Regions from separate parts of the Homo sapiens genome. Here region 2 is linked to region 1. Evidence: promoter capture Hi-C in 16 types of primary human blood cells and fetal thymus (Javierre and others, 2016). All regions are on one chromosome and are shown on one strand. The core of a region is centred on a gene start or on the middle of the fragment in contact, and the rest is flanking DNA. Distances in the headings are between cores, read along the strand shown. Region 1 holds the start of CNPPD1 (cyclin Pas1/PHO80 domain containing 1). Region 2 overlaps LOC105373883 (a long non-coding RNA gene).

Region 1 (4,917 bases), core at 1,431-3,930:
TACATGTTTTTGTTTGCGTCTGTCTCCTTTAGACATTACCCTTCTCCAACATAAGAACTAGATTTTACTCATGCTTATCTCCCAAGCAACTCACATACAGCCTGTCACCTACTAAGTAAATTATATGGATAACAAGAAAAACAACACTGACGTTCTATTTATAAGGCTTATATGTGAAACACTATCATAAGTATAGCATGTGTATTAACTCATTAATCCTCTCCTCACCTCTCTATGAAGTAAGTTCTATCATCTGTGTTTTACAGATAAGGAAATTGAGACAAACAGAAATTGAGCTACTTTTACAAGGTCACAGCAATGGTAAATGGCAGAACAGAGAATGGAACCCAGGTAATATGGCTGCAGACTTCACCATCTTAACCACTGCACCTACAGTAGTATTAGTTTGGGAAAGGGGCAATTCTCATTTTAGGGAATTCCGTACAAAAAGGAAGTGGGCCATGCCTGGGAGGCAGGTGGCCTGCTGTACGTTCCCCTCGCCACTTAACCCCACCCAGCGGAATCAGGCACCAAGCAAGTACCCAATGGGTGCTTACTGAATGAAGAAACACTCACCTGAAACGTCAGGGAGAAAGCGAGGCTGCCAGAGATCCAGCAGAAAATAGGCCAAAAGTGAGACGCTGAGTAGGAAGAAGGGCCGGAGGGACGAGGAAGACAGCAACCTTAGGGAGAGACAGGCACCTCAGCAGTGAGTGGGTGAGACAGGCTCATGCATCCATCTCAGAAGGTGGAAAGGCGCCTACTGATGGGGTAATGGCACCTCCAGGCCTAACTCGCGACTCACGACTCAGAGATAGAAAAAAATGGGCAATTCAAGCGGATGTCAGCCTGCAAAAACTGGGGATGGGTCATGCCCCCAGGCCAAGTGATAACCCAGAAAGGGGAATGGTGCTCTCGACCCCTCCCTCCCCCGCTCATCCCGGCCCCGCCCCCTCCTCCGCGGCCGTTACCAGAAGAGGCCGTTGAGCGCGGCCGCCGTGACCAGGCTGTGCAGCGGCTTCTCCCACACCAGCAACCGCTGCGCCGCCGCCAGCACCGCCTCCCAGCCGCGGAGCCGCAGCCACAGCGTCGTGGCCAGGCGTCCCACCGCCTCGGCCGTGGCCGCCTCCTCCTCTGCCTCACTGGTGGCCTCACTCATGCCTAGGCTCAGACCCAGACCCAGGCCCAGGCTCAGGCCCATCCCCGGCCCCCCACCCGCGCCAGTGTTACCCCCGCCACCGCCGCTCGCCATAGCCCCGCCGCAGCCGCCGCCCGAGCCCGCGAGGAGCCAGGGCTGCGCGGCCGCCGCCGGGGGCGCGTCAGGCGGAAGGGGGCGCCGCGGAGGACAGCAGAGGTTGCGGACGAGCGTCACGTGACTGCGGAGCGCTGAGCCCGTCACGTGACGCGGCCTAACCCCCCCCCCCCCGGATAGGGCGGGCCGCGCATGCGCCCCGGCGGCTGCCGCTGACACTGCGCCTACACAGGTTCGTTTTCTGGTTGACGAAGTACCCCGGGTTCCGAGTCCGGGTCTAGGTCCAGGCAGTCGAGCCCGTTTTCTTATCCCACAGTAGGCAGGGCGGCTAGGGAGTGTGGTGCTGCCCCGGTATCCCCGTGTGGGGCAGGAAGTGGGCTTCCAGATTCCCAGTATCCCCGGTAGGGTCTGCTTCTGCTCGCTCGGGAAGGGCGGTGGCCGTCCCATTACTCAACCAACCCTCAACGCACTGGTCCTCCCAGTTCCCTCCCCTCAGTGGGTAAACAAACACACACCAGCGCTTGACTCGACAGACTCGAAAACAACATCTACTCAGAAAAGTTGTTTCTTTCCTATCTCCTTAAACTTTCCCACTTCCACATATCGGAGCTTCTTCCCACCTCGGCCTACTCAAGCATGAGATCGGAGGCGGGAGGTGGGTTTCAACACAAAACCTTGGGTAGATGCAGTTTACTTTTGGGTGGACGTGTTGACACGTTTTGAGGCCTTACATTCGCTTAAGATCACAGAATTTCCTCAGTAGCCTTAGGTTTAAAAGTTCAAATTACAGTAAAAAAAAAAAACACCCTGAGTTTCTCTTCCTTTTCATAGTTCACCCACTGCTAAATTTCCTGTGTGTCCTTTCAGACGCTTTTCATATGCATTGCTGAGTATGTATAATATCTCTCCTAAAAAGCAACTGGGAACAACTTCCTGTTGTGCGTTTCGTCTTATTCACATTAACTTCTCCATTGCTACGCCTGGCTTGTTCATCCTCAGTGCGGCGTGGTCCCCCCTACGAATTGTCCCCATTTCTCAGAGGCGCCTGGGGCTTGGCCACGTTCCGTGAGACCAGGAGTTCGAGTCCGGTTCCTGCCCGCGGGTCGGGGCGGGAGGCTGGGCCAGATGGGCGGCAGGAAGTGCCAGGCGCTGACTTGCAGGCGGCACCCCCGCGGCTTGTAAACGCCGGGCGGACGCGGCACAGGCGGAGTACGCGCCTCGCAGCCGCATCTCCTTTCTGCTCCGCGAGGTGAGCGTCGCACGGACGCTTGACACCTCCCTTCCCGGGCCTAGGGCCCCCGCGCGCCGCGCCAAGCCCGGGGCGGAACAGGAAGAGGCGCCCAGTTCAGCCCGGGCCCCGCCTTCCGCCGCCGGGGGGAGGGAGCTGCGAGGGCGAGGGCGAGGACGGCGGCCCGCCCCGGGGAGGCAGGCTGGCAGGTGGACAGGCGGGCAAGGACAGCTCCGCGAGCCCCCTACAACTCGTTTCCTTCCGTTCACCTTCGCAGGGCGGCGACTGGCGGCGCGATGGACCTGACCGGGCTCCTGCTGGACGAAGAAGGCACCTTCTCCCTCGCCGGCTTCCAGGACTTCACGGTGAGTGGGGGTCCCGCCCCCTCCCCGGCCTCCCGGCGCGCCCCTCCCGGCCTGAGCGGCGCTGCGAGCTCGCCTGACTGCTGTGCCGGGACTGGGCGGCAGCTGCTCGAGCAGTGCTTCCTTGAGGCCGCGGCTGCTTGGGCCGGGAGGGAGAGCCGCGGAGTATAGGAATGGGCGTAGGGGTGGCCACACGAGGGCCCTTCTCGGAGAACTTCTCCCGGGGAACCCTCGATGGGGGTGGGGGCATTCCTCCCTCTATGGACCAGGCTGCCATTGGCAAGCGATTTACAGAACGCGGGTCTGGGTAAGGCACGGGCCCCCTAGCAGCGAGGCCGGCCTGTCCCCTGCCCCGCCTTCCAGCCCAGAGCCAGGATCTGCATCATACCTTTCCGTGCCCTTCACCCTCCGCTGCCCCTGCCCTGTTTCAGTTCCTCCCAGGACACCAGAAGCTGAGTGCCCGGATCCGAAGGAGGCTCTACTATGGCTGGGACTGGGAAGCCGACTGTAGCCTGGAGGAGCTCTCCAGCCCGGTGGCAGGTTAGGCAGTGTTGTGTGACTGGACAAGTGAGAAGCATGAAAATGGGATTGTCATCAGGCAGAAAATGGCTCGAGGTTTGCCCCGTGGCTACACTGTCTCTTCATTGCTAGCTCGTTGGTACTTGGTTCAAGAGGGCAGTTTGCATTTCCCATTCTTTTAGCCCAAATGAATAAAAAACATTGCTGCCACATATATCTATACAAATCACTCTTGATTTATATATTGAAAAGCTAATTTTCGAAGGATATCCATCATATGTTCCCCAAGTAAACAAGGCATGTTTATGCCACAGATGAACAGCAGTGACAGATAAATCTGGATAGTTTGATGTGACAGGGCAATAAGCTTTCCTGTTAGAATGAGCTGAAATTCGAACTTGGAATGGGCTTTTTGTCTCAGTGTGTGAGAATTTGATCTCTATTTTGTTACTATGGTCCTGTCCCCAAGGCCTCAGAAAATACAGATCTGGGTCTTCTGCTAGCAGTGGGGACTGGTGTGTTGGGTGTGGGTGCTTGTTTGCTCACTCGGCCTTCCTTCTGTCCCTTGCAGACATTGCTGTCGAACTGCTCCAGAAGGCAGCCCCCAGCCCTATTCGCCGACTCCAGAAGAAATATGTAGCTCATGTGTCCCGGTGAGCCTGGAAATGAGGATAGGATGAGAGTGTTTGGGCCCTAGAGAAAGGGGAATCGTCTTTTCTTTCTTTTCTTTCTTTCTTTTTTTTTTTTTTGAGACAGTCTCACTTTGTCACCCAGGCTGGAGTGCAGTGGCACAATCTCGGCTCACCGCAACCTCCGCCTCCTGGGTTCCAGTGATTCTTGTGCCTCAGCCTCCCCAGTAGCTGGGACTACAGGCACACACCACCGCCCCTGGCTAATTTTTGTATTTTTAGTAAAGACGGGGTTTCACCATGTTGGCCAGGCTGGTGTCAAACTCCTGGTGTCAGTCCACCCACCTTGGTCTTCCAAAGTGCTGGGATTACAGACATGAGCCACCGTGCCCAGCCAGGAATAGTTTTTTTCCAAAGATAAGAGGTAAAGACAGGAACGAGCATCATAAGACTTGCAAGAGCTGAAGGACCCTTGGGTTTAATTAGTGATCCTTTCTACCACCCAGGGAGGCATGCATCTCCCCATGTGCTATGATGCTGGCTCTGGTGTACATTGAACGGCTCCGGCACCGAAACCCAGACTACTTGCAGCATGTGTCATCCTCTGACTTGTTCCTGATCTCCATGGTAAGACACCCCCTCCCCATCTCCCTAAAGAGCCAAGAGCCTGCTATGAGCTCTGCTCCACCACTTCTGGTTCCTCTGCAGATGGTGGCCAGTAAGTACCTCTATGATGAAGGGGAGGAGGAGGAGGTCTTCAACGACGAATGGGGAGCTGCTGGGGGTGTGGCCGTGCCCACTCTCAATGCCTTGGAGAGGGGCTTCCTGAGTGCCATGGTGAGCAGCTGTTCTCTCTCTTGCTCAGTTTCCCTGGCCCATCTTTAACCGTCCTTTAGTCCTTTGTTCTCTCTCAGTCTTCTGTTGGTT
Region 2 (5,144 bases), core at 2,069-4,568, 190 kb before region 1:
TGCTGCTTGACTACAGTTTTCCACTCCCATGGCAGTTGGAAGTGCTGGGGAATTCAAGCTCCATCCCACAGCAGCTCTAAACAATAACTGGCAAGACTCTGTGTCTGAATACCACAGCTCCCTCCCATCTGGGGTGAGAGAACTCTGAGGCATGTAGTTTACACTGGCTCCCAGAGTCCCCCCAGCAGAATTCTGCTCCAGAGATAAGCCTGATAACACATGCCTCTATTGGCCACCTTCCCTTCCTTGTCTCCCTTTCCCACTCCCCAACCAATGTTTTCCTTCACCTCCCAGTAAATTCCTGTACACAGATCCTTGTCTCCGGGTCTGCTTCTGGGAAAACTGAAACTAAGTTAGAATTCTTCTGAGATTTTTAGATAAGGATGTCTGCTATTCTATTACGATTCAGCATTTTACTCTAGGTCTTTAGCTATGTACTAAAACAAGAAAAGGAATGAAAGAAAGGTGGAAAGGGAGGAATAAAACTTTCTTTTTATATTATTTGTTATGTAGAAAATCCAAAAGTTATACTATTTGAATTAATAAGTTATTTATTTATTTATTTTTGAGACCGAGACTCGCTCTGTCACCCAGGCTGGAGTGCAGTGGTGTGATCTTGGTTCACTTCAACCTCTGCCTCCAAGGTTCAAGCCATTCTCCTGCCTCAGTCTCCCGAGTAGCTGGGACTACAGGTGCACACCACCACACCCAGGTAATTTTTGTACTTTTAGTAGAGACAGGGTTTCACCATGCTGGCCAGGATGGTCTTGATCTCCTGGCCTCGTGATCGGCCTGCCTCGGCCTCCAAAAGTGCTGGGATTACAGGTGTAAGCCACTGCACCCGGCCGTAATGAGAGAGTTTATCAATACAGCTGGCTGAAAAATCAACATACAAATATCAATTTTATTTCTACATACCAATAAAAAATGGGTAGAAAACGAAATTTTTAAAAGGTTTACTTCTACAAGCATAAAAATCAAGTATCTGTCAATAAAGTTATGCAAGATCTCTACAGAGAAAATTTGTGTGTGTGTGTGTGTGTGTGTGTGTGTGTGTGTGTGTGTGTTTTTTGAGACAGAGTCTTGCTCTGTCACCCAGGCTGGAGTGCAATGGTGTGATCTTGGCTCACTGCAACCCTCGCCTCCCAGGTTCAAGTGATTCTCCTGCCTCAGCCTCCCAAATAGCTGGGATTACAGGCATGTGCCACCATGCCCAGCTAATTTTGTATTTTTAGTAGAGATGGGATTTCACCACGTTGGTCAGGCTGGTCTTGAACTCCTGACCTCAGGTGATCCGCCCGCCTTAGCCTCACGAAGTGCTGGGATTACAGATGTGAACCACCACACCCGGCCTCTATAGAGAAAATTTTATGTAAGAAGGTCCAAATGATTTGGAAGATATCTCTTATTCATGATGTGAAACTCAATATTGTAAAATATGTTATCCTCCAAATTGATACATAGATTCAGTGCAATTCTAATAAAAATACCGACAGTTTCTCTCCTCCTCCTTGCTTTTCTTCTTTTTGTGTGGGAGTTGACAAGCTGATACTTTTTTATAGCCAAGATTTGAGCTGGGTGTAGTGGTGCGTGCCTGTAGTCCTGTCTACTTGGGAGGCTGAGATGAAATGATTGCTTGATCCCAGGAGTTAGAGATCGGTCTGACAAACATAGTGAGACCCCGTATCTTAAAAATTTTTTTTAAAAAAGAATCGAAGAAGACAACTGCCTTATTTGTTGTCAAAGCTTATTATAAAAACTACAGAAATTAAGATAGTATATTCTTGGTTCAAGAATAAAACTCACCAATAGAACAGAGACAAATGAATATTTGATACTTGGTTTATGACAAAGGTGGCAATTTGGTTTTTTTTTTGTTTGTTTGTTTTTGAGATGGAGTTTCACTCGTTGCCCAGGCTGGAGTGCAGTGGCGCAATCTTGGCTCACAGCAACCTCTGCCTCCTAGGTTCAAGCAATTCTCCTGCCTCAGCCTCCTGAGTAGCAGTGATTACAGGCACCTACCACCACGCCCAGCTAATTTTTGTATTTTTAGTAGAGATGGGGTTTCGCCATGTTGGCCAGGCTGGTAATGTACTATAATAAAGTGGACATCCCAAGAATGCAGGTTTACTTCAACATATTAAAATTAATTAATGTAATACATTATATTATAGAATAAAGAGCAAAACCCACATGATCTCAATTGATGCAGAAAAAGCATTTGGTACAATCCCAAACCCTTTCATAATAAAAATATTCAACATTCAGAAATAGAAAAGAGCTTGCTCAACCTGATAAAGGCATCTATGAAAAACCCACGGCTGGCTAGGCACAGTGGCTCCCGCCTGTAATCCCAGCACTTTGGGAGGCCGAGGCGGGCGGATCACCTGAGGTCAGGAATTGGAGACCAGACTGGCCAACATGGCGAAACCCCATCTCTACTAAAAATACAAAAATTAGCTGGGTATGGTGGCATGTGCCTGTAATTCCAGCTACTAGGGAGGCTGAGGCAGGAGAATCGCTTGAACCCGGAAGGTGGAGTTTGCAGTGGGCCGATATCGCGCCACTGCACTCCAGCTTGGGTGACAGAGCAAGACTCGGTCTCAAATAATAATAATAATAATAATTTCTTCATACCTTGCATACTTTGCATACAAAGTTGTTTCCCTCCATCCTATGATGTCTAATTGTTTTATTTATGTATACTTATTATAAGTTTTAACCCTTAGTGACCCTAATTTGCTGTGAAAACTAGGAAGCAGGCAATTGTGAACTGCCTGTCATATATCGGCATCTTGTAGTAGATTAGTAAATTTATGAATATACTATTTTATAATTTCAGGAACATATGCTTCCTAATATAGTACAGTCTTTCAGTGTGGCAAAGAACATGCTTATTAGTAGACCCAAATATATTTAGCTTCTCTATATCATATAAAAATAAGATGCCAGAAGTATATACGCTTAAATTTATGCTTAGTAGTTAATGTTTCAGTAGTTTATCTTACTTACAAATGGTTCAGACATTTAATGAATATCTACTGCTTAATTTAACCTAACTTTAAGTTTGCAAGTTACCAAATAAGATTTGGAAACTGATTCAGGCAGACATACTGTAACATCAAACAAAGCTAGCCATCATCTCAAGTTATTTTTCTTGTTGACAAATCAGGTAAGTGTAAAAAATGGCCAGGCATGGTGGCTTACGCCTATAATCCCAGCACTTTGGCATGCCGAAGTGGACAGATCCCTTGAGCCCAGGAGTTCGAGACCAGCTTAGGCAACATGGCCAAACCCCATCTATACAAAAATTGTCTGTCCATGGTGGCATTCTCCTGAAGTTTTAGCTACTTGGGAGGCTGAGGTGGTAAGAATTGCTCGAGCCTGGGAGGTTGAGGCTGCAATGAGCCATAATCATGCCATTGTACTCCAGCCTGGGCAACAAAGCTAAACCCTGTTTAAAAAAAAATAACAGAAGCAAAAAACCTAAAAATTTAAATATATGGTTCTTCTCTGTCTTTTTTTAAAAACTGCTATGCTTGATATGCATCAAGCAATTTATTTTTATTGTATATTTTATTCTTAGTTTAGATTTATAGTTTTATAACCTTAAACATCTAGTTGATATAACATTGTTTGACCAGTAAACCCAGGTAAAATAAAATTGTAGTTCTGCATTCTATTTAATGCTGACAACTCCAAAGACATTTCTGCTTTTATTTTATCAACAATTTTTTTTTTTTTTTTTTTTTTTTTTTTTTTTTTTTTTTACAGAGCCTGGCTCTGTCACCCAGGCTGGAGTGCAATGGAATGGAGCCATCTTGGCTTACTGCAACCTCCGCCTCCTGAGTTCAAGTGATTCTCCTGCCTCAGCCTCCTGAGTAGCTGGGATTACAGGTGTGTACCACCACGCCCAGCTAATTTTTGTATTTTTAGTAGAGGCGGAGTTTCACCATGTTGGTCAGGCTGGTCTTGAACTCCTGACCTTGTGATCAACCTGCCTCGGCCTCCCAAAGTGCTAGGATTACAGGCGTGAGCCACTGTACCTGGCTTTTTTTTTTTTTAATCTATATAAACAAGGTCTCACTCTGCTGCCCAGACTGGATTGCAGTGGTGTGAACACAGCTCACTGCAGCCTTGAACTTCTAAGCTCAAGGGATTCACCTGCCTCAGCCTCCCAACTAGCTGGGATTACAGGCGCCTGCCACCACGCCAGTCTAATTTTTTGTATTTTTAGTAGAGGCGGGGTTTCACCATGTTGGCCAGGCTTATCTTGAACTCCTGACCTCAAGTGATCCACCCACCTCGGCCTCCCAAAGTGCGGGGATTACAGGCGTGAGCCCCTAAGCCCGGCCTACTTTTTAAACTTTTTGTAAAGACCAAGTCTCAGTATGTTGTCCAAGCTGGTTTCAAACTCCTGGGCGCAAGTAATGCTCCTGTCTCAGCCTCCCAAAGCACTGGGATTAGGGGTGTGAGCCACTGCGCCCAGCCTGCCAACAATCTTAAAACTAATTTTATTTACCCAAAAGACTTAACAAGGCCCATGTGTTCAGATTCCTGTCTGTGTCCCCATCTTTGGAGGAAGGACACCTTTCACATGGGGAAAGGATCAGGGAGATCCCTTCAGGAGAGAAGGATCAGGGAAGTCAGAGAGATTGTCCTGCACATGCTGTTTCTCAGATCCTTCCAGCTTAAAATATTCAACATGCCAGTGTGCCATGTTTCTGGGTGGCATGTCCTGAACCCTCTTATTGGATAGTATAAATGGCTATTCACTCTGAAAATCTGTTGAGCTGTATCTTTACATTCTGTCTACTTCTGTTCATATGTATTACCTTTCATAATCAAAAGGTAAAAATACTTTTTTTAAAAAAAAGCATAAAAGCTTCTAAACACAAAAGTTGGTGTCAGAAATATTCTAAATGGAAAGAGGAAAAGAGTGGCTCCTAAGATGACTGGATTATTAGAAGTAAAGAAATGCCCTCCCTTCTTGCCCAATAAACTCCAGAAGCTCCCAGAGTGGCCCTAGGCGAGAAGAGATGAGAGGGAGGGTCAGCCGTGCTCTCCAGGGAAATCCCCTTGTTTTCCCCAGGCCAGCCCCAAAGGGGCACTAGTCTACACTGAACTCTCAACTTCCAGGCAAT

What was found. The method cuts DNA at HindIII sites, captures the fragments that hold promoters and counts their contacts. A CHiCAGO score of 5 or more calls a contact.
Region 2: a contact is called between a fragment that was not itself captured here and the fragment with the promoter of CNPPD1 in region 1, in 2 of 17 cell types (erythroblasts and M2 macrophages). The highest score is 5.3, in erythroblasts.

Annotation. Positions count from the first base shown.
Region 1 is chr2:219,174,688-219,179,604 of GRCh38, reverse strand. CNPPD1 (cyclin Pas1/PHO80 domain containing 1) reads left to right here and starts at 2,680. Exons shown (of 8, transcript NM_015680.6): 1 at 2,680-2,845; 2 at 3,274-3,382; 3 at 3,933-4,014; 4 at 4,497-4,617; 5 at 4,699-4,827. The coding sequence starts at 2,777. It overlaps RETREG2 (reticulophagy regulator family member 2), which reads right to left and starts at 1,330. Exons shown (of 9, transcript NM_024293.6): 1 at 972-1,330; 2 at 577-683. The coding sequence starts at 1,252. RefSeq lists silencers at 896-965, 2,416-2,465, 2,536-2,745, 2,866-2,925, 2,764-3,058 and 2 more and an enhancer at 1,135-1,635. The HindIII fragment of the contact is 4,554 bases long and covers 1-3,730 here.
Region 2 is chr2:219,363,919-219,369,062 of GRCh38, reverse strand. It overlaps LOC105373883 (a long non-coding RNA gene), which reads left to right. Exons shown (of 2, transcript XR_923917.3): 1 at 1-712. Among named protein-coding and RNA genes, the nearest start is that of DNPEP, 21 kb to the left of the region's middle. The HindIII fragment of the contact is 3,139 bases long and covers 1,749-4,887 here.